7 separate regions of the Homo sapiens genome follow, and all the other regions are linked to region 1. The links are contacts of gene promoters, found by promoter capture Hi-C in human tissues and cell types (Jung and others, 2019). All regions are on one chromosome and are shown on one strand. The core of a region is centred on a gene start or on the middle of the fragment in contact, and the rest is flanking DNA. Distances in the headings are between cores, read along the strand shown.

What was found. The method cuts DNA at HindIII sites, captures the fragments that hold promoters and counts their contacts. A contact is called where the count stands out against the background at its distance.
Region 2: a contact is called between a fragment that was not itself captured here and the fragment with the promoter of GFRA1 in region 1, in 2 of the 25 tissues and cell types used here (IMR-90 fibroblasts and aorta).
Region 3: a fragment that was not itself captured here is called in contact with the fragment with the promoter of GFRA1 in region 1 in 4 of the 25 tissues and cell types used here (bladder, dorsolateral prefrontal cortex, heart right ventricle and 1 more).
Region 4: a fragment that was not itself captured here is called in contact with the fragment with the promoter of GFRA1 in region 1 in 5 of the 25 tissues and cell types used here (IMR-90 fibroblasts, bladder, dorsolateral prefrontal cortex and 2 more).
Region 5: a fragment that was not itself captured here is called in contact with the fragment with the promoter of GFRA1 in region 1 in 3 of the 25 tissues and cell types used here (H1 embryonic stem cells, dorsolateral prefrontal cortex and hippocampus).
Region 6: a contact is called between a fragment that was not itself captured here and the fragment with the promoter of GFRA1 in region 1, in 4 of the 25 tissues and cell types used here (hippocampus, lymphoblastoid cells, mesendoderm cells and 1 more).
Region 7: a fragment that was not itself captured here is called in contact with the fragment with the promoter of GFRA1 in region 1 in 1 of the 25 tissues and cell types used here (thymus).

Annotation. Positions count from the first base shown.
Region 1 is chr10:116,271,641-116,274,744 of GRCh38, reverse strand. GFRA1 (GDNF family receptor alpha 1) reads left to right here and starts at 1,539. Exons shown (of 11, transcript NM_005264.8): 1 at 1,539-1,582; 2 at 2,470-2,755. The coding sequence starts at 2,716. It overlaps LOC107984273 (a long non-coding RNA gene), which reads right to left and starts at 736. Exons shown (of 2, transcript XR_001747598.2): 1 at 1-736. RefSeq lists a silencer at 1,034-1,328 and an enhancer at 537-1,374. The HindIII fragment of the contact is 12,805 bases long and covers 1-3,104 here.
Region 2 is chr10:115,772,217-115,775,320 of GRCh38, reverse strand. All of the region lies in intron 27 of ATRNL1 (attractin like 1), which reads right to left. Among named protein-coding and RNA genes, the nearest start is that of SNORD158, 420 kb to the left of the region's middle. The HindIII fragment of the contact is 5,015 bases long and covers 1-3,104 here.
Region 3 is chr10:115,809,039-115,812,142 of GRCh38, reverse strand. The region is part of intron 27 of ATRNL1 (attractin like 1); the gene reads right to left. Among named protein-coding and RNA genes, the nearest start is that of SNORD158, 380 kb to the left of the region's middle. The HindIII fragment of the contact is 3,822 bases long and covers 1-3,104 here.
Region 4 is chr10:115,831,460-115,834,563 of GRCh38, reverse strand. The region is part of intron 27 of ATRNL1 (attractin like 1); the gene reads right to left. Among named protein-coding and RNA genes, the nearest start is that of SNORD158, 360 kb to the left of the region's middle. The HindIII fragment of the contact is 3,651 bases long and covers 1-3,104 here.
Region 5 is chr10:115,873,641-115,876,744 of GRCh38, reverse strand. All of the region lies in intron 28 of ATRNL1 (attractin like 1), which reads right to left. Among named protein-coding and RNA genes, the nearest start is that of SNORD158, 320 kb to the left of the region's middle. The HindIII fragment of the contact is 3,414 bases long and covers 1-3,104 here.
Region 6 is chr10:115,903,881-115,906,984 of GRCh38, reverse strand. All of the region lies in intron 28 of ATRNL1 (attractin like 1), which reads right to left. LOC105378497 (a long non-coding RNA gene) reads left to right here. Exons shown (of 4, transcript XR_001747597.3): 4 at 1,952-2,031. Among named protein-coding and RNA genes, the nearest start is that of SNORD158, 290 kb to the left of the region's middle. The HindIII fragment of the contact is 3,357 bases long and covers 1-3,104 here.
Region 7 is chr10:115,965,405-115,968,508 of GRCh38, reverse strand. No RefSeq gene overlaps it. Among named protein-coding and RNA genes, the nearest start is that of SNORD158, 230 kb to the left of the region's middle. The HindIII fragment of the contact is 4,561 bases long and covers 1-3,104 here.

The DNA.
Region 1 (3,104 bases), core at 290-2,789:
GTTGGAGGAGGGGTGTCTGATGAGGGCGTCCGTCTCCTCATACTTACCCTGGAGGAACACGCGTACAGCACAAGAGAAGTGCGGATCCGTAGGATGTCCCCCGGGTTTGGGGCGCGCCCCGAGGCGCAGACCCTCTTTGGCGACTCCACACAATATGCAGCCCGCCTGCAAGCAGCCGCTGCAGCCGAGGGGCGCGCCTGGCTGATGTGTGGTTGAATGGAGAGCGGCCCAACCCTCCTCCTTCCTCCTCTTCTTCTCCCCGCCCTGACACCCGGGCCTCAAACTTCAACCAAAGCCCGTGCCCTTTTCAATTTACCCCCCTCGATCAAAATGAGCCATTCTTGTCTGTCCTCCGCGGCGGCCCATTGTCTGGCGTGATAGGTTTGCAGATTTGACAGCTGGGCGCACGCAGATTTGATTCAAACTCGGTCTCCCCGAGAGATGAACTTGGACATCAGCAAAGATCCCGAGCACTGCCGGCTGGCTCCTAGACCGGTCTCCCGACCCAGTGTAGACTTCGGTGCCCCGGGCGCCCCCCGGCGTGCGGGAAGGGGAGCGTGTGTCAGGCGTGGGGGGCGGGGGGTGAGCAGCACGACTGGGAACCAGCGGTCCCAGGGGTTGGGGCGAAGGGCTGTGTACATGTTAGGCTTTTTTTGTTGTTGTTAATTTACTCTCGAAACAGCCAAAATGGAGGTCAGCTTATAAATTTTCTAAAGCCAGGTCTGGCCGGGTTTAAATGCAGTGGGCTGGGGGCTCCGCTTTTGTCTCCTTGTCGGAGCTCCAGGAGAGAGGTAGAGACTGCGTGTGCATGTGTGCGTGTGAGTGTGAGTGTGCACGCGCTGGCGTGGACGAACGGATGGGCGCATCCCAGGATCGCCGCTCCAGCGTCCTGGGTCTGAGTGTGTCTTGAAAGCACCAAGTCTTGAATCACAGCCACTAGTGACGTGGGGGAAAACTTTGTGTTCCGAAGAAGGGTCTGGCTCGATTGCCCTAAGAAGAAAGAGCCCTTGTGCCCGTGTATGTGTGTGTGTGTGTCTGTGTGTGTGTGTGAGAGAGAGAGAGAGAGAGAGAGACAGAGAGAGAGAGAGAGAGAGAGAGTGTGTGTGTCTGGCAGCACCCGCGGCCGGCTGCAGAACACTGCGTGTCCTGTGCGCGAGTACGGGTCCGGCCGCGGGTCCCACCGCAAGCGGGCGTGTGCAGCTGCGGCTGCCTGGCGGGCGAGCTTAGGAGGGAGCTGGAGCTGCGGAGCGGCGGGAACAGGAGCAGGCCGAGGGTCCTCTGGCCAGAAGAAATCTGGCCTCGGAACACGCCATTCTCCGCGCCGCTTCCAATAACCACTAACATCCCTAACGAGCATCCGAGCCGAGGGCTCTGCTCGGAAATCGTCCTGGCCCAACTCGGCCCTTCGAGCTCTCGAAGATTACCGCATCTATTTTTTTTTCTTTTTTTTCTTTTCCTAGCGCAGATAAAGTGAGCCCGGAAAGGGAAGGAGGGGGCGGGGACACCATTGCCCTGAAAGAATAAATAAGTAAATAAACAAACTGGCTCCTCGCCGCAGCTGGACGCGGTCGGTTGAGTCCAGGTTGGTGGCATTTGGAGTTTTTTTCGTTCTGTTTGGGAACCCATTGCCGCTTCCCGTCCCTCTTCCCCACTCCTTCTTCCCCCCTCCTCCGGCCACCCCTTTCTTTTTGCTGGCGTCTCCCAACTTTAGGGCCCGGGGGGCGCTCGTGGCGCCGGGCTGCACCTGCCGGGGCACGCCGGGACTGCGGGCCGGCGCGCTCGCCCTGGGCTGGGGTGCGGAAGCGCCCGAGTCCTGGGCACCGGGCGAGAGTGTGAGAGGAGCGGACGCCCAGGAGGGAGCCGAGGACGCGCGGCGGGTAGGGGGTAGGGGCGCAGGAACCGGGTTTCAGCCCCAGTCGGGACATCGGTTCCCCCTGGCTTGGCGGCCTCTGGAGGGAGACGAGTCCCGGGGAGAAGGAGGGCGGCGACTGGGGCTAGGGATTGGCGATCGGAGTGGGGAGGGCCGGCGGCTGAGCGAGCTCGCTGGCTGACGCGAGGAGGGGGAGGCCAACTTCCCGGGAGAAGGGGCTCTTTCGGCGCCAGGGCTGGCTAGGGAGCTGCCGCCGCCGCCACCGAGGGCTCGGACTCCAGGCAGCTGCAGGCTCCGCTCGCGACGCTCGGAAAGTACCGTTTATTTATTTATTTGCTTGCGTTCAGCGTCTCGGGTTGAACCCAACAGACACCCCCTTGGACTTTAGGAACCCTCTTCAGACCTCTCCAGCCCTCACCTCCATCCCCGTGTCAGCGGCCCCTGGAAAACACGCACATGCACCCCGACCTGGGTGGGGGTGGGTCCTCACCCCGGTGTTGGAAATTCCCCAAAGGCGGGAACGGGGGAGGGGAGAGGGTTCTGTGGGGGGAGTCTCCGGCGCTCTCCGCTCTCATCTCAAAGCGCGCCCTCCCTTCCAGGTTGGGTCGGACCTGAACCCCTAAAAGCGGAACCGCCTCCCGCCCTCGCCATCCCGGAGCTGAGTCGCCGGCGGCGGTGGCTGCTGCCAGACCCGGAGTTTCCTCTTTCACTGGATGGAGCTGAACTTTGGGCGGCCAGAGCAGCACAGCTGTCCGGGGATCGCTGCACGCTGAGCTCCCTCGGCAAGACCCAGCGGCGGCTCGGGATTTTTTTGGGGGGGCGGGGACCAGCCCCGCGCCGGCACCATGTTCCTGGCGACCCTGTACTTCGCGCTGCCGCTCTTGGGTAAGTCGAGGCCCGCCGCGGGCTTTCTTACCCTCTGAGTCTTTCCTAGGGTCGCTTGCAGCAGCCCACCCCGCCCTCCGCACCAAAATTGGGGCGCGGGTGTGGTGGATGTGGAAGGAAGAAGTGTCTTTTTGGGGAATGGGATCGCGAATCCCCGGGTTAGGGAGGCGGTGGCGGCGCGGCGCTGCCTGAAGCTTTTCGGGCTTGGTTTTGATTTCCTGTGGTTTTTAATGACCCAACTTGGCGGGGGACTAAGAAGCCCTCCAGCCCAGGGCCCTGCACCCCCAGAGAGTCTCTGGGAGCTCGCGGAGCCGCGGCGGGCAGGTGGAGTTGGGGAGCATTGGGGCCG
Region 2 (3,104 bases), core at 257-2,756, 500 kb after region 1:
AAGTAAGATGAAAGAATAATACTATTCTAAAAGATCCAGCCAAGTATTGCAAAGCTGATTCAATATATTTTAACTTAAGTATTGAAATTCAATGCCAGTAAACTGACAAGCTAAAGCTATATGTTTTAGAAGGGATCATTCGGGGGTAAACATTTCAGAAGTATGCAGTTAGAGTTGCATTGGACAGAATGTAGTTACTCAAAATATATTACTTTTAAAATAAGTTTTTTAATGGACATCTCATCAAAAGCAGGATTTATTATTTTCTAAAGTATAATCTTAAAAATTAACAGCTGATCATTCAAAACCTCAATGGTATTCATTTCTTAGCTAATGTCTTATGACTATTAGTCAACGTCACAATAGTCATTCTTTTATTTAACTTCCTTTGATGCCTGTGGGATGGGGGTGAGAAGAAGAAAAGACAGCTTTACATAAAAAAAAAAACAAACCATGACTTCACTAACTCCAACTATAACTGAGTGAAACGTTAGCAAGAAGTGTTATAAGTGCTAGCTAATCTTGAAAAAAAAATAAGACAAAATATTCTGGGGCATTCTGTCAGTGGTAGGAATTATGTGATACTAATTATAGTGCTGTGTCAACAAAAGATGAAGAGGGAGATTTTAATAGAGAATACGTATCTTATTGTTGGACGGTACTAAAGTTGAAACATATGCTAAGAGGAAATAAATATTGGCTTAAACAGCAGCATACTCAAGTTTGAATTGGAATGTAAAAACTTCTTCTACCCAGAAGTGTTTTTTATAGCTTAGGTGATCAAGACTCTTATAGGCTTAATTTCCCTATTATCTGGGCCCTCAGAGCACCTTGCCCAAAGCCACCCCTAGCTTTCACTAATCTAATTTTTTTTTTTTTTTTTTTTTTTTTTTTTGAGATGGAGTCTTGCTCTTGTCGCCCAGGCTGGAGTGCAGTGGTGTGATCTCGGCTCACCGCAACTTCCGTGGCCTGGGTTAAGCTTCTTCTGCCTCAGCCTCTTGAGTAGCTGGGATTACAGGTGCCTGCCATCATGCCTGGCTAATTTTTGTACTTTTAGTAGAGACGGGGTTTCGCCACATTGGCCAGGCTGGTCTCAAACTCCTGACCTCAGGTGATCTGCCCGCCTCGGCCTCCCAAAGTGAATCTACTTTTAGTGTTTGGCACAACCAGGTATTATCCACACTCATCCTAACTCCACACCTGGGGCTGGGGAAATTATTGGTTATTCTAGGATGAGTGCTGGTTTGGGGTGGCTATTAGAGAGCAGTCTTTGGCTATTTTCAGCTAGATGATTCATAAGTTAGGAATAGAGAGTGAAGATTAGGCTCTTGAACCTCAGGTTTAAGGGAGAGGTCCAAATCTGAAATGATAATGTGTAACCTCATAAATCCTATACTTTCCCATAGAAGATCACACAAAAAGGGAGGGAGATAGGAACAAATAGTTAAATTTAGTGATTTGCAAAGCCTCCAATTAACCCAAAAAGAATTTGGGTTTGAATTTTTGGTATTAATATTTGTGTTGAGCATTTACAAGCCAAAATATTTAGGTAATCTGTAACGAAACACTTTCATTAACTAAGTTTGGAATTCACACAGTTCACTACCATCAAATAAAATGAGGGCTGATTTCATGAGCATGTGATCTGTGCAGGTGCAGGGGTCCCCAGTCTTAGAAGGGCTCTAAGCTTGGCTGAATGCTCTGCTGAAATTCTTAATAATTTGTTTAATAAGTGGCTCATACTTACATTTTGTACCATAGATTACGTAGCCATACCTGAATAAGATCCATTATGACTGGGCTATATCTTATATATTACTAGTGAGACAGAATAAAATAAATATTAAGCAAAAATGAGGTGTTGGTTAGCATAAGCTATATAGTAATCTTTTTTAAACACCGTATTTTCCTGAGGCCTGAACTTCCCAAAGCAATTTTCTTGTGCTCCCTTTGTAGTCCAGATAGGAAATAACTTCATGTAGGAAGATTTTTACTCCTCTGGGCATATGAATTTTAAGGGCAACTGAGGAATGAACTCAATGAAGAAATCTGAAAGGAATGAATTGCTAATGGTAGACATTTAGGAGAAATTTTTTGGGAATGGATTTTTTGCCACTTTTCCTTTTATATACAATGTGCACTTCCCTTTAATATTTGAGCTGACAACTGTTAAAAAGAGTCATTCTCCCTGCTCTTGCTCCCTATTGCAGTTTCATTTCTCATAGTAAAGTCCCTCTTTTTCTGCTTCCGTAGTAGTTTTCTTCACTAAAATTTCTCTAATGTTCTTTGTATAAAGAGGGTAGCAAGAAAACGCCTCCCCAATCAAATATCAATTGAAACCGCCTATTGGCTGTGGTTGATTTTTGCCTCAGTCAGTAGTCACAATTTCCAAGACAATTTCCCTCCATGCTCTTTTATACCACCCCCAAATTTCTCTGCTCACAGCATTATGAATCTCAGTACAGCTGAATCATGCAGGTCTGATTTAGCCTGCAAAAATGTCAGTCAAAGCAAGCAAGATGTACTCTTTGGCCTTGAGTGCTCTAAGCTGCTATGAATCACAGGTTTAGTTTTTGCCAAATGAAAAGCAATTTCACTTGCAAAAAATATCTGTAGGGATACTTATGGCTTTTAGCTTACAGGGAAAATGTACTTAAATTGTCCAGGGAAAAGGAGAGTTTGTGTAATACACACACACACACACACACACACACACACACACAGACAGAGTATATATTTTGTATATTTATACAGTATATATATATATACAGAATATTGAATATATATTCAATCTTTTATGAAACCAGTTAAAAGCTAGCATTTACTGCATTTGCTTTTCATTAAAATCTTTTTCATTTTTGAGCTTCATCTAACAGGTGTTAACCATTAGACTAATAAATTGCTTCTTCAAATGGACCATGTCAATGAGTTGATACCTAATAAAGTTCACGTTTTCGTAAGGGAACACTTCAGTGAGACTTGGTAATCGAGAATTTTGTAATTAGTTGCCTAAATATTAAGCAACATGATATTTTCTCTGACTCCTATTTAAAAGCACCAGCCACAGTGTGAAATGCCATTGTGAATATTGTAATCAATACTTT
Region 3 (3,104 bases), core at 169-2,668, 460 kb after region 1:
ATAAAAAGGTAGAGAAATTTCATGCAAACACAAAAGAAAGCTGGAGTGATGGATGTGCAACATTATGAATGTATTTAATACCACTGAACTGTATACTAAAAAAGAATGAAGATAGTAAATTTTATGTCATGTGTATTTTACCATAAAAATAAAACTTTTAAAAATAGGTATATACACAAAGTTGTTAACAGTGATTACTTTTGGGTAGTGAGCTTACAGCTGATTTTACCTTCCTATTTTTGACTATCAGTATTTTCAAATTTTCACATATTTTTATAATTAAATGTTTCTTACCTGTATAATAAAAAAGAAATCTAAAAATGTTTAATTAAAGAAAGAAAGCTGGAGTGGCTATATTAAAGGCACAAAGAGACGACTTCAGATCAAGGAATAGTACCAGGAAAATGTATAACATTATATAATAATAAAGAAGTCAATTAATCAAGAAGACCTATCAGCTTCTAGCTAATAGTAGACAGCTGAATGTGTATGTGCTTAAAGATAACAGAGCTTCAAAATACATGAAGCAAAAACTGATAGAATATACAGAAGAAATAAATAAGACTACAATTATAGTTGGAGATTTTTAACACTCCTCTCTGAGGAAGAATCAGTAAGAATATAGAACTAAGTATGTGGAACACATAATGGCATTATCAATGAAACTAATCTAACTGACAATTCAAGAACTCCATACAAGAGCAGAATACACCTTCAATTCAAATCTAAATGAATCCTTCACCATACAGACCATACTCTCAGCCATAAAACAAACCTTAACAAATTAAAAAAGATAAAAACCATAGAGTAATATTCTCTGACCAAAATAGAAATAAACTAAAAATAAATTTAAAAATCTGGAAAATTGTGACACATTTAGAAACAACACACTTCTAAATAAGCCAAAGATCAAAGAAATAGTCACAAGGAAAATTGAAAAAAGTTGTGAATTGAATAAAAATGAAAATATAACAAGTCAAAATTTGTGCAATGCAGCTAAAGGATGCTTGAAGGGAAATTTATAGCATTAAATGCTTATACTAAGAAAGAAAAAATGTCTCTAATCAATGTTCCAAGCTTCCCTCCTAGGACACTAACGAATAGTAAATTAAACCTAAAGAGAGAGAAGGAAATAATAAAGATACAAATATCAATAACATGCAAAATAGAAAAACAAAGGAAAAAATCCATAAAGCCCAAAAGCTATTTCTCAGACAATATCAATAAATATGATAAATCTCTAGCCAGACAGACCAAGAAAAAGAAACAACATATATCAAGAATGAAAGAGAAGACATCACTATAGTTCCTACAGACATTTTAAAAAATAATAAGGGAATATTTAGAAGATAAGAGACTGCCAATAAATTTGACAACTTAGATAAAATAATAAATTCCTGGAAAATCTAAAAATACCAAAACTCACTCAAGAACTATATAACTTGAACAGCCATATATCTACTAAAGATATAGAATTTATTAAAGAATATTATATATATTCACATGTATAAACACTTGTGGTTTTACTTCCAAGAATTAACAAGTATTCTTTTTTATGTTAAAGGTGTTTTAAATCAAACTTACTACTATAATTGCCACTTTATTATCTTACAGACACTGTCAAAATTACCCTGGCCGAAGGTTAGTAGGTCAAATAAAAACCATCAAGTTCTTTTATGGAAAAATAAAAGAATTTGTCATTAAAACTATTCCACAGAAAACCCCAAGGACTAGGCAGCTTCAGTGGGCAATTTCTATCAAATACATTTGAGGACGACATAATATCAATTCTATGCAAACTCTCCAGAAAACAGATGAGGAGGAAACATGTCCCCAGTCATTTCATGAAACCAGCATTATTCTGATATTAAAGTTGCAAAAGACATGGCAAGTAATAAAAATTACTGACTAGTATACTTTATCAACATCTCAGTAAAAATCCTTTTACAAATTGGCAAATTGAATCTAGCCATGCACAAAAAACATATGTCATGACAAGTGAGCTTAATCCTAAAAAGGCAATGTCAATTTGACATTGGAAAAACAAATCAATTTAATTTACCATAATAACAAACTATACTAAGTAAAATCCACAAGATTTTCTCAAAAAATAAGAAAAATATTGTTAAAAGTCAATATCCATTCCTAAAAAAAATTTCTCAGCAAACTAAGAATAGAAAATTTCCTAAACTCTGATAAAGACCATCTTACAAAACCTGAAGTTAACATCATACTTAATGGTAAAAGACTGAATGTTTCCCCCTAATATATGAAATAATGTAGGGGTATTTGTTTGAATCGTTTCAATTCCACAGTGTACTAGACAACCTAGCCAGTGCAACAAGGCAAGTAAAAGAAATAATAGGCATACAGATGAAAAAGGAAGAACTAAAATTGTGTTTATTTGAAGATGACAATATTGTTTCATAGGAAACCCTAAGGAATCTACAAAAAAGCTACTACAATTAATAACTTGAGTGTTGCAATGTCACAAGATAAAAATATAAATCCACAAAAATTAATTGCATTTCAGTATTCAATGGTAACAAACAATTGGAAATCAAAATGAAAAAAGCTACCATTTATAGTAGTATCAAAAATTTAGGTACAAATTTATTAAAATATTTCACTAAAAATCCATTACTGACAGAAGTTAAAGAAAACCTAAATAAAAGAGGTAATATTATTTAACTTGTAGCTTAGAAGAGACACAAGACTTCAGATATCAATTCCCCCTATATTGGTCCATAGATTCAACCCAATCTCATTCATAATCTGATTTTTTTGATAAATTGAAAAAGTTGATTCTAAAATTTATACGGGAAATGCAGAGGATCTAGAATAGCCAAAACAAATTTGGAAAAGAAGTACAAATTGGAGGCTTCACACTACTTTAAGACCTAATATAGTCACAATAACCAAGACATTGTGGGATTGGTGTTAGGATAGACCTATTTATCAATGAAACAGAATGAAGTCAACAAATAGAATCATACATATATAGTTGATTGATTTGCAACAAAGTGGTTAAGGTAATCCAATGGTGGCAAAATAAATGCTGGAACAATTCGGTATTCTTATGAAAAAAACCTTCAGCCCTTATC
Region 4 (3,104 bases), core at 346-2,845, 440 kb after region 1:
AAATGGTAAAGGGAACATTCCAATAAAATATAGAGGTTTGCCTAGAGACAGGCAAACAAACTTTGCAAACAAGGTGGAAGAGTCTGAGAGGCAAGGGAGAAGTAGGCGATTGGGTCAGAAAAGAAGAGTTGTTGAGCCTTATGGATTCAGACATATATACTAAACTTAGGGAAGTGGGTTTCAAAAAGTTCAGAAAAAATTACAGGTATAATCCCACCATTAGAGAATCTAAAATAATATGGCTCAAAGGACAGGAAGCTTTAAAATATCTGATTGAAATCCCAAGTGACAAAATAAAGAAGGAATATTGGAGCCGCAGAAAGTAGTTTCTAATGGGATGCCAGTAGAATAAGAGTATATAACCTCAGACTCACAGGCCTACTGTGGGGAGCAAGTTCTTGGAGTGGACTAAAGGTGTGGGGTATGCAGGGATATGATAGACAACTGGCTCCTGAGAGCATAGCGGTAGCCACCAAATTAACTGTAGATAGAAAGACAGTCGGTCGCTGGCATTCCATTGAGGTATAGCAGTGAAGTGCTCCGGCAGTTGAGCATAGCACAGTCATAGAAAATCATTCCATAAGAAATGTTTGCTCCAAATGATCCCCATCAGGGAATTATCCAGATTATGAACACATATGGTGAAGAGCAGGCCCTGTTGCTTATGTGGCAGACCTTTAAACTAAAGCTTTACAAGATAATGTGCTTTATATTAGAATTCAAAAGAATTAGAACACAGGATTAAATTAACTAGGCAGTTTGTATTGGATAGAGGGTAAACATGTGGGCTCTGGTACATTATTGCCTAGAATTAATTCTTAACTGCCGCTTACTTGGGCATGTTTCTTAACTCTCTGTGCTCAATTTCCTCATCTGTAAAATGGCAATAATTATAATATGTACTTCACTGGATTGTTGTAAGGATAAACTAAATTGATACTTACAAAGCATTTAGAGTACTGCCTGGCGTAGGGCAAGTGTTCAATAAATGTCAGTGATTATTATTTAATTTTATCATTTTAATGGTCTGTTTAACATAGCATACACTCTTACTATAATAATAACTTATTCTTATAACTTAGCCTGTATCTTCTGATTTATGATAGAATAGCCCAGGAGCTTATATGTGGCCCTGGTGTGACACAGCCTTTGAGGAAACTCTTGCAGGCTGGTTCTACATTGAGCACGCTATGCCGTGAAAAGTAAAATCAAGTTTGAATCTTGGCTCTACCACATACAGATCACGTGACTTTAGGTAACTAGACTAATCTTTCTAGGCCCAAATTTCTTCACCTATAAAAGAGAATAATAATAGTGCTAATTACTGATAGGGTTTTTGCAACGAGTAAACTCAATAACTTATTTAAAGCACCTGGTATATTGTATTGCATACAGTAGGCATTCAATGAATGGCAGCTATGTTATGATTTAGCTCCTTTATCTCCTTAAAAATATATTTAACTTTCCTGCTTATTACAAATGAACACCATACATTCTTAGTTTGCTATTTGAATTTCTTTTTTTTTCTCCTCTTACATGTCCTGAAGGAATTTTTAAAAATCTCACTAAAATGAAATACTGGGACATAAAAATACTTGTGATGGTCATTTTCCATTTAGAAGGGAATTACCTTGATACTTCATTGCATCTCTTCACCATAGATCTTTCTACAATGAAACTCTAATTCATGATCTTGTCAGAGCTGGGGCAGGGGATTCAGGTGTGAGTATCAGATAAAAGGTTGAGACAGAGATGCAGGATCAAGAAGGGGTGGCTTTGAAGCAAGCAAGCAAGGACAGCAAAAGTAAAGGGTTAGAGAATGGATAAATCAGTTGTGGGTTTAGAAGTGACATACATAATAATAGTGGCCATTTTTGAATACCTAATGTTTCCTTTGCCTGTGCAAGGAGAGTGGAAGAGTCGAGACTTGGACTCAGACTTATCATAATTCCAATGCCTAATTCTTCCCCACTTTCCATACTAGCATCTGGAAGTAATGACATACCACAGGAGACAGACAGACGCATACGTTGTAGTTCAAGGTCTGAGACTCAGAATCCAGAAAGTCTATGAGATTTGAAGGAATGAAGGGAGTGCAAAAACAATGTCAAATGATGAGCAAGTATAGAAGAAACACAACAGAAAGGGTTTTCTATCCTTCCCTTAGCATTATGCTCTGCTTCTTGGTAACAGAAGCCAATCTTCCCACTTAGGTTGGTGGAGCCTCTGCAGGTGAGAAAAGGTGAGTGGCAGCTCCTGACCAAGATGAGGCCCACAAGGCAGGAGTCAACAGCACGAGTGAATGGTGGGAAAATCCTGGATTCCTCCCTATTTTACCTTGGCTATTTGATAGCTTTCTGACCCAGACTACAGTTTTAATTTGAAAAGTTCCCCTTTCTACAGAAACTAAACAGGTTTCAAAGCAGAAATATAAATTAATTTTGCCAATTCTGGCAACCAATAACCCTCAAATTTTCTATGACCTTAGCTTTTTCCCCCTTTATTTACCTCATAAAAGGGAAGTTAGGACATATTAATCCTGTAAATAGCTCCATATTTTCTGAGATCACTTCAGAAGAAGACTATTTGAATAAGATGAAATTACTATTTGTCGGGGAATTTAATTATACTCTTTTTCTTGGTGTTGGTTTTCAAGTTTCTTAATGCCTTTAGTTAATAGCAGGTAGCTATAGCAATTTTAAAGTATCTCTTTCAGTTATAACACTCTCTGTTGACTTTTTTAAAGCACCTAACAATTGACAAAGCTTTTTAAAAATCTCACTTGAAAAAAAAAAACTCACTTGACTCTTGCAGCTACTATGTGAGGTGGTGAGAGCAGCCTTTACTACCCAAACTTTACAAATGACAAAACTAAGGTTCTGAGAGTTAAGAGACTTGCTTGAGGACACAAAGTAGCTATGTCATGTTAGCCGGTGCAAGAAGTGAACATCTAAACACTGACTCCTGGGCTCTTGGTAATACAGGGAACACCTTTCCAATTGGTTTGCTTTCCACGCTCCGCTCCACCCTCACCCCGGCGTGCTTTTCACTGGGGGGATTTTCTCATGAGCTCAGGTGGGCTCTGGGCTGTATCATGCTCATCC
Region 5 (3,104 bases), core at 191-2,690, 400 kb after region 1:
AAATTATTTTTCAATGTACACGACCTTAGCAATGAATTAACTATGGTTATCACTGTCAGATCTCTATAATTATACAGTAATCATTCATTCATCAAATCTTAATTGAGCACACACTGAATTCTATGTCTATTTACATATGAATCCCTTAACCCTTTCCCAATCTGGAGATTTCACTTCAGAGAGCCTCAAAAATATGAAACACAATTACAGATCAGGGAATAGGTGGAAAAGACTCAGATAAGCTTCTGAGCAGCAAAGAAAATGCCTGTTATAAAGTTCCTACATTTTGCTAGGTATGTGGGTATCTTCATGTTGTTATCAAAATAAATATGAATTAAATAGAATAACAAAAGACTTGGTGACATGAAGGAAGAGCATATATTGTCTGTCAGGTACTGAATTAAGTATATTACAGACATTATCTCATTTGAGCCTTTCACAATCCCCAAGAGATAAGTAGTATTAGCCCCATTGTACAGAATGAAAAATTAAAGCTGAGAAAGGGTAAGTGTCTTCCCAGGATAAAACACCCAAGAAGTGGTCCACATTCATCTGACTGCAAATTGTATGTTGTGATGTTCTGACCATTAAATATGCTGCCTTTTTCATTTAGCGTGTGTCTGTAGATTCTGAGCTGGGTAATCTGAGGACAATTTGTAATTACAGCCATTCCAGGTTCCAGTTTCACCTTGCTCCAAAGCTTAAACCAAATACCTACTTCCGACTTCAAGATTCCCAGTATTTGATCTCCTACTTTGCCTTTCAGTGTCCTTGACACTCATCCTTTTAGTCTTTGCCTGGCTAATTCCCAGTCATCCTTCAAAGTTTCTGCTAGAATATTATTTACTCAGGAACACCATTTTTGACTGTGAAATCTAAGTGGAGAACCCTTGTTTTACCTCCATGCCACTCTATATTTCCCTTTACTGCAATGATCACAATTTGTAACTAAGTATGTATTTGTATAATTATTTGTTTGATGACTATCTCCCACACCAGACTATAAGCTCTATAAGGGCTGGGAACATACCTGTTAGGTTCTTTGCTCAGCCAACACCTAGTAAGTGCTCAATACATACAAGTAAAACAAATGACCTATGCAAAGCTTTCAGCACGGAAGTAGGTACTCAATGCACATAAGTAATATTATTTCATTAATGAATGGACTACTTAGATCCTTGAATCTCTATCCTCATTTCATGTTCTATTTTGTCTCAGAGACTGATGTCTTAGTTTGGGGAATTTCTTTGGGAGTCCCCTTCCCGTTCTTAGAAAAAGTGCCCCTGAATTTGTTTCTCCACTTGTCCCTCAGGATAACTTATCCACAGAATGGTATCTGATCTGGCCAGTCCCTCTGGACTGCCTCCCCAAATTGGGCAATGACAGCAAGCTTCAATTGTCTAAATATTTTATTTATTTAGGTTACCTAATTTTAATGATGCCAGATAAATGTGGCCTTGCCTACTAAATCCAACAGCCTGCCAACTGTATTCAACCAGAAAAGATCTCTCAAATCAACTTACATTAAAAACTTCGCTATTAACATAAAAATCTCTTTAATGAGTTCACTGGTAGAGATGTAGAATGCTGAGATGCACAAAATAATAAATGATTAGTCAATTTAATTCAATTTGTCACCAAGTCCTATCAATTTCCACTTTCCAATAACTTTTGAATTCATCAGAGACTCTCTTTTTCTGCTGCAATCTAGACCCTCACCTGCCTGGATTACTGTAATTTTTCCTAGCTGATCTTTAGCTTCTGATCCCACTCTTTAACAGCTGAGTTTGTATACTCCAGAAAAGTAAATGTCCTCAAAACTGTGCATTTAAAGCTTGGATCCCTGCTCAGAAATCCAAAATGGTTTCCCAATTCCTACCAGATCAAATTCAAGCTCATCTTGGAAGTAAGGGCCTTCCTGGCATTTTCGATCTTTCTTAGCAACCTCCCACTTCCAAAGAACTCTGATTTCTGAGTCTCCTTTGCTCATGTGACTCTCCACTTAGACTGTGCTTCTCCACCTCTGCTGCCTGTCCAGGTTTCTATCACTTGGAAATCTCAGGTTCTGCTGACTCCATTTAACTTTTAGTAAGTGCTCTTTCTCTCTCACCTACATTTTTATCTTTTGTAGAAATGGAAGATACCCATATTATCTATTATCTGCCTGAAGAGATTGTAGTTTCCTTCAGAGAAGTGATTATCTAAATGTTCTTTTGTATTCCTACAGTTTGTGTATAATTAACATTGATTTCTTTCTCTGATAGTGCTTAGTACTTGAGAAACAAACTCAAGAAACACCTGTAAAGAAAAACAATATTTTATAAATTCTCAAGTTGTTATTGGATGGCAACCTAAGACAAGGCAGGGACCTGATTACCAGTAGGTGATGCTATCTCCTTCAATTAGTATTGGTCAGTGTGAGAACGGAAACTGCAATGGAGAGGCAGGGCAATCAGGGAGGTCAGCTTCAAGCTGAAAGGACTCAGTCCAGTGAGCTCAAGGCTCCTCCAGCTATGGATGCTGCTTTCTAAGAAAGCCATAGAGTAAAGCCCAGTTGTGGCAGAAGACGTCACTGACTGCCAGAAAAGGCAACAGATCTTCTCCAGCAGGCTGTCAGAAGGGCATCAACCATGACTTTCCCCAAGTTGACAAGCATGAAGAGCTGTGGAGGAGACATGAAGATGGAAACAGTGAAAGAGGGGAGAGTGGTGGTGCCATTTCTGGATACCAATTTTGATCCTCTCAGACCTTCTGTCTTGAGTAATTCCTAGTACATTTCCAGAACCTTGTCATTAGCCATTCCAGCAGTTATTTGCATCTGGATCAACACCTTTAACTGATCGATGCAATTATTGAAAGCCTTCTTAGAGAATTCTCAATATCATTTCTCCTATCTAAACACTAAAATTAATAAAGTCACTCAATAAAATATTAGAGAATAGTCCACAGGTATTGTCTCAGTCTCATTGGTCTTTGAATAAATGACTGAAAAGTGGCCAATATATTTCCCTCTGCCGTTTTGACTGAAAATCAAAATGCTAACCTAAATAGTCAATCAATACAGTAAATCACAGACAAAAGCTTTGGAGAAACGAGGTGTCTTC
Region 6 (3,104 bases), core at 220-2,719, 370 kb after region 1:
ACTGAGTTGACACTCAAACATCATATTTAAAGGAAATGCTCATTGAAGCATTTCGGATAACCTGTACCAACCTCAGGGGATTATAAAGATTAAGTGAATTAATATTTACAAAGCGCTGGTACATAAGTAGTTTTATATATAGGTTTCTGATTTTTTTTTAAAAAAAGTATTTGTTCAAAATTTACGAAGTTCAATTATATGGCCTTCACTGTAAAGATGAAGTCTAGGATATAATCCTGTACTCTAGGTGCTGAAATTCTAGGGGGAGGCATGTACTGGAACCCAGGTATGAATAAAGTAATACGAAAACTTTGAAGAAAGTAGTCAATTCTAATAATGAAAACTGTTTAACCCACTTACAGTTAAAATTGTTTAATGAAAATATCTTCAAATATTGAAAAATGAAATTAATCAGCAGATTTACTAAATGCCTATTTTGTCTGTAGGCCTGTATAATCTACTGTGATTGTTTTGAATAAAGGCATTTGTTAAGAGAGGAGGAAAACAAGACACAGAGCCTGCTCTGTGCCAGGGCCTTTTAAGATTTTCTTACTGAACTTTCTCAATCCTGAAACAAATTTTGAGGTATATATAATCATTCCCATTTTACAAAATAGTTACCTGAGTCTAAAATATGTTAAGGCAGAGAGAAATCTGAATCCAGATCAAATTCTCACCCTCAAAGCCAATTTTACTTTCGCCAAGCCAGTAGTTTTCAAACTTTATTAGCAGAAACCTAGCTTTAAAACAAAATCATGCATGTTAAATGTATTATTTTATTAGGGTAAATATAAGTTATAATTATAATTTTTAAAACACAGTCATAACAGTAAATATTTACTTGTTGTAAAGTCAATCAATGAGAATAATGTGGGTATAGTGATTAACATAGAATTTGGAAATCAAAGCTTATGGAAGTTAGTCACAGTTATGCTAGTCTCAGAGCTTGATTTATTTTTTTGTTATTGTTACATAGTATTAAGAAAACCCTGCATTGCACAGTTGTAAATTTTAAAAGAGTTTTAACAGTTCACCCTATAAACCAGGCTATTCTTCAACTAAGCTGATATAGAAGCTTGAATGACATGAGGAGGAATTAACTTCTCTTAAGTTCTTTTCATAAAAACAATTATTTATCAAGTCCCTCCTTTATGTTAGGCATGGGGCTGGATGCCAGGGATTCCATGGTGCTCATGACAGATGTGATTCTTGGCCTCCAGATGAGTGCTTTGAAAGGGGAATAACCAGGTTAAGAACATTTACTGGAGTAGACCATTTTCAAGAACATTTACTGGAGTTGACCATTTACACGGATGACTTTTTCCCATAAATACAAATGTATAGGGTCTAGTTAACCTCTTATGGAAAGATTTCTTTCCGTTGAATTTATATTCACAGGTCATAGATTCTGGGCATCAGATATAGCCTGACTGGAATTGTTGGAAGACTAAAACCAGCCAGGCACAGTGGCTCACGCCTGTAGTCCCAGTACTTTGGGAGGCCGAGGTGGGTGGATCACTTGAGCCCAGGAGTTCAAGACCAACCTGGGCAACATAGGAAGACCCTGCCTCTACAAAACTTAAAAAAAAAAAAAAAATTAGCTGGGTGTGGTGGTATAGGCATATGGTCCCAGCTACTCGGGAGGCTGAGGTACGAGGATCGCTTGAGCCTGGCAGGTTGAGGTTGCAGTGAGCCATGATTGCACCACTGTACTCTATCCTGGGTGACAGAGTAGGACCCTGTCTTCAAAGGAAAAAAAGACTAAAACCAATATTTTCTCCAACTACTCTCCTTTACTCACTTAGCACTCAATCTCTGCTACAGTTTTAGTAACCCTGGGCACTAGACTAATTACTTTAGTAGCTGGGGACTAGCTCACTTTCTCGTTTGGGTAAGTGCCAGGCCAATAATAATCTTGAGATTTTTAAGGATTTATTTTGAACTCTTTCAGACTTCAGCTGTAATTTATGAAGCACTGAAGGGACTACATCCATCCGAGTGATAGAAACTCCAGGCTGAAGCTGTTCAAGCAATCCTAACTCGTCTTATGTATCAATAACCCCAGTACCTGGCACTGAGCAATATCAAAAATTGGAGAGAATAAACTGTGGATATATATTTTTAAAATTTAGCTCACTAGGATAAGAGAATCTGATTGCAGACTTTATGTTCTTTGGACTTTAATTTGTAAAGTGATTGAATATTTGGACTTAAATTTCTCTCCAGGAATTTGAAAATGGTAGGGAGTTTGTATTCAAACTTAGGGCATCTTTATGTTGACAGTCGATTAAATATCTTAATCAGGTTGTTTGATCTCTACAACCTGTTATGCTGTCTTTTAGAAACATGACTATATATAATTTGAAATGGGGAATAGGAAATAGATTTTGAGCCTTGGCTACAGTATAGTCTTGGAGCTAATTTCATGGATGTACAGGTGTCATTAATCTCAGAGCTTGTGAGGGGGAAATCCACACTGTCTATAGTGATCCCATGGTGACTGCCAAAGCAGCATTAGTTGGCCCTGGGAGAATGGCCAGTAGGAGTAAGACTGTCTTGACAGGTTGCTGATCTCTTCTGAGGGCAACAGCCACACTGCAGGAGGAAAACAAACAGCTGAGAGTGGTGGCCTAAAAAGGTGCTAGTCAGATTTCCTGTGGAGGGGAGCACAGTTGACTCAAAACCCCAAATGCCACCCCTCTGGATCCAGCACCATGTGCGGTGCTGCCAAATTCTTCCAGGATGGTCCCAGCCAACCAATGCTGAGCCTGGTGGGAGTAGTGGTACAGGGTCCATTCCTGCCTGATGTGAAACTTTGCTGGCAGGTGATTGGCTTGAGGACTTTCCATTGGTCTTTTCAAAACTTTCTTAGAACTGCACCATGCTACCCAATCATTGTTCCTTCCTTTAGCCTTCCCCACACTGCCTCCCACAGGTGCCAGACTTACCTCTTGGTCTGAGGCCGTCCTTACTTACTCATGCTTCCTCCCTGTACCCTTCATAGGCATGTCCCCCAGTAAAGCTCTTGCACATTTCACCTCGTCTTGGTGTCAGCTTCTCAGAGGTCCTGAACTAACGCACTAAAAAATCTTAGGGGAATGAAA
Region 7 (3,104 bases), core at 402-2,901, 310 kb after region 1:
GGAGTGGGCCTTGCACATGAATGTTTTTCTGTGCCCTCCTGACAGGTTCCTGCACTCCTTCACCACTGGAGGCACCACTCCTGATGTCACAGGTCAAATGCTGGGTGACTTCCCCCCAGCATGACCACAGGGGACTTTTCAAAATCCATCCAGACCTAACCGCCCTTTACCATCCAGACTGCTTCCATTCTGATCCAATCAACCCTCACCTCCCCCAGATTGTCCCCAAGACTTGTCATTCATGTCCTTTATCTATTCCTGTCCCTTGGCACTTTTTAATCCATACTTAGCAAGCCAGAGTGGTTCTCTTAAAACATGTAACGGAACTCAAGCTAAACAGCACACCTCTTGATACCACTTGGAAATGTGTGCACGGTCCCCCGAAGACCTGTGTAAGGATGCTTATGGCAGCACTATTCGAGAGCGTTCAACAGAGCCCATTAACAACAGAATGGATACACACTGATAATGGTTTTGCTGTCCCCACCCACATCTCATCTTGAATTGTAGTTCCCATAATCCCCACATGTCATGGGAGGGACCTAGTGGGAGGTAACTGAATCATGGGGACGGTTTCCGCCATGCTGTTCTCGTGCCAGTGAGTGAATGCTCACCAGATCTGACGGTTTTATAAGGGGCTTTTCCCCTCCTTTGCTCTGCACTTCTCCTTGCTGCTGCCATGTGAAGGACATGTTTGCTTCCCCTTCTGCTCTGATTGTAAGTTTCCTGAGACCTCCCCAGCCATGCTAAACTGTGAGTCAATTAAATCTCTTTCCTTTATAAATCACCCAGTCTCAAGTATGTCTTTATTAGCAGTGTGGGAACGGACTAATACACACACTATAGTCCTTCCGCACGATGACACAGCAGAGAGAACAAACCACTACTCGCCACAACATAGGTGAATCTCACAAACATAATGTTGAGCAAAAGAAGTCAGACAGGAAAGAGAAAATATGTCATCATCCATTTACATGAAGTTTACAAGTAAGCCAGTTTAGACTATGGAGATAGAGGTCAAGAAAGCAGTTACCCTTGGGTGGGAGGCAGACAAGGAGGAAGAAGTCACAGGGTTGCTCTGGGGAGGCCGAAATGCTGTGATTCTTGCTCTGGTCCTGGCTAAAGAGAAATTTCATCTAGCTGTACCCTAACTATTGGCATGCTTTTCTCTCTCTATGCTATACTTTAGTAAAGTGTAAAACATTTCAGATAGTTGCATAAAATGAGATTTAAAAATGGACAGTAATGAAGATCATGAGAACTGTTTTCTATGCTATGGGCATAGAATATTTAGTGCAAATTTCGAGTACTTTGTATTGGTGATATGAAAGAATTACTGTTAAATTACAGCCATTAAAAGTTATAAAAGAAAATTGGTACTGACATTACCATCTCCACACCATTTTTTTCAGCAAAGGTATTTGGTACTTTTATTCTAGATAATGTTTTTAATGTAAGTTTTTGAGGCTGTTTTATACTATTTGATTGAGGGTATAGTAAGACCAACTTATTGATATCTTTATCCCAAATATCACAGGTACAGTGGCGAGCAAGTCAGATGATACAACTGCTATCTTCCAAACCTTTCAATGGTCCCACCTCACTCACAGTCAAAAGTTAAGTGCAAAGTGGCCCCAAGGCCCACAAAGCTCTGCTTGGCCGTCATGCCCTCCCCTTATTTACTGGGCTTTGGGCACAGTAGACTCCAGCAAGCCAGGCATACAGTAACCCCAGGGCCTTTGTACCGGTTGCCTTGTCTTCTGGCTCTCCTTCTGAACGTTCTTCCAGATGAAGGCAAGCTTTGTTTCCTCACCTCTTTCCGTTTTTGTTTAAATGTCACTATATTAGTTCATTTTCACACACTATAAAGACATACCTGAGACTGGGTAATTTATAAAGAAAAGAGGTTTAATTGACTCACAGTTCCACATGGCTGGGGAGGCCTCAGGAAACTTACAATCATGGCAAAAGGGGAAGTAGGCACGCCTTATTATACTTGGTGGCAGGTGAGAGACAGCCAGCAAGAGCAGGGAAAACTGCTTTATAAAACCATCAGATTTGGTGAGGACTCACTCACTATCATGAGAACAGCATGGGGGAAACCACCCCCATGATCCAATCCCCTCCCTCCCTCAACACGTGGGGATTATAATTCGAGATGAGATTTGGGTGGGGACACAGAGCCAAACCATACAAGTCACTGTCTCTGTGAGTCCCTTCCTGACCACCAGCCATCCCCACCCTCCTCTGCTTTTCCTCCTCATGGCACTTACCTTTCATTACACTATATTATTTAGTTACTTATATTATCTCTTTCCATTAGAATGTAAACTCCATGAATAAATGAATTTTTGTCTATTTTGTTCACTGCTTATGTCCTTAGTGCCTAGAAAAGGACTTGGCAGGTAGCAGAAACTTAGTATTCCAAGAACGCAAGGGTGAAGGAATTAATGAATTTACAAAACTCGCTTTGAATCCCATATGGTGTGAAGCAAACTAGAAATGCAGGCAACATCCAGGTCAATAAAACTCAGTTGTAGGAATTCCTCAAGCCAAGTTTAAAGTCAGATCAGGACTAAAGAAAGGGGGAAAGGATTATTTCCCTGAATATTCCCTGCCTTCAGTCTCCCTGCATTCTTATTTGGGTGCGCCAGCTCACTCTTTCATTCACGCTAAACAATACCGGTGCACCTACTATGCGCTAGGCTGTGCTGGTTGCAGGATCCCTGGTTAAGTGGCACCAGGATGAAAGATGCTGAAGGATAAGAATCATTTTTAAGGCTTAAGCATTACTGGCATTATCTCAGAACATCATCACCGAAACCATCACAAGAAACTACTATCTCCTAATTTTATATCCTAATTTTACAAAGAGCCTTTCTGAGGTTAAGTGACTTCCCCAATTTATCGGCGCCAGGAAGTGGTAGAACAGGGGTCTGCACTAGCCTGCTGGGCTCCAGCCTGCACTCTGCTTTCTCCAGTGAGGGATGAGACTTCAGCCAGAGCTCATCAGGACGTGAGTGTTTAAACCAAATCACAAAAGCACAGACCAAAGAACCAAAGCGATGGCCACGGGGATGTTGTCAGGACATGCATCATGGGGC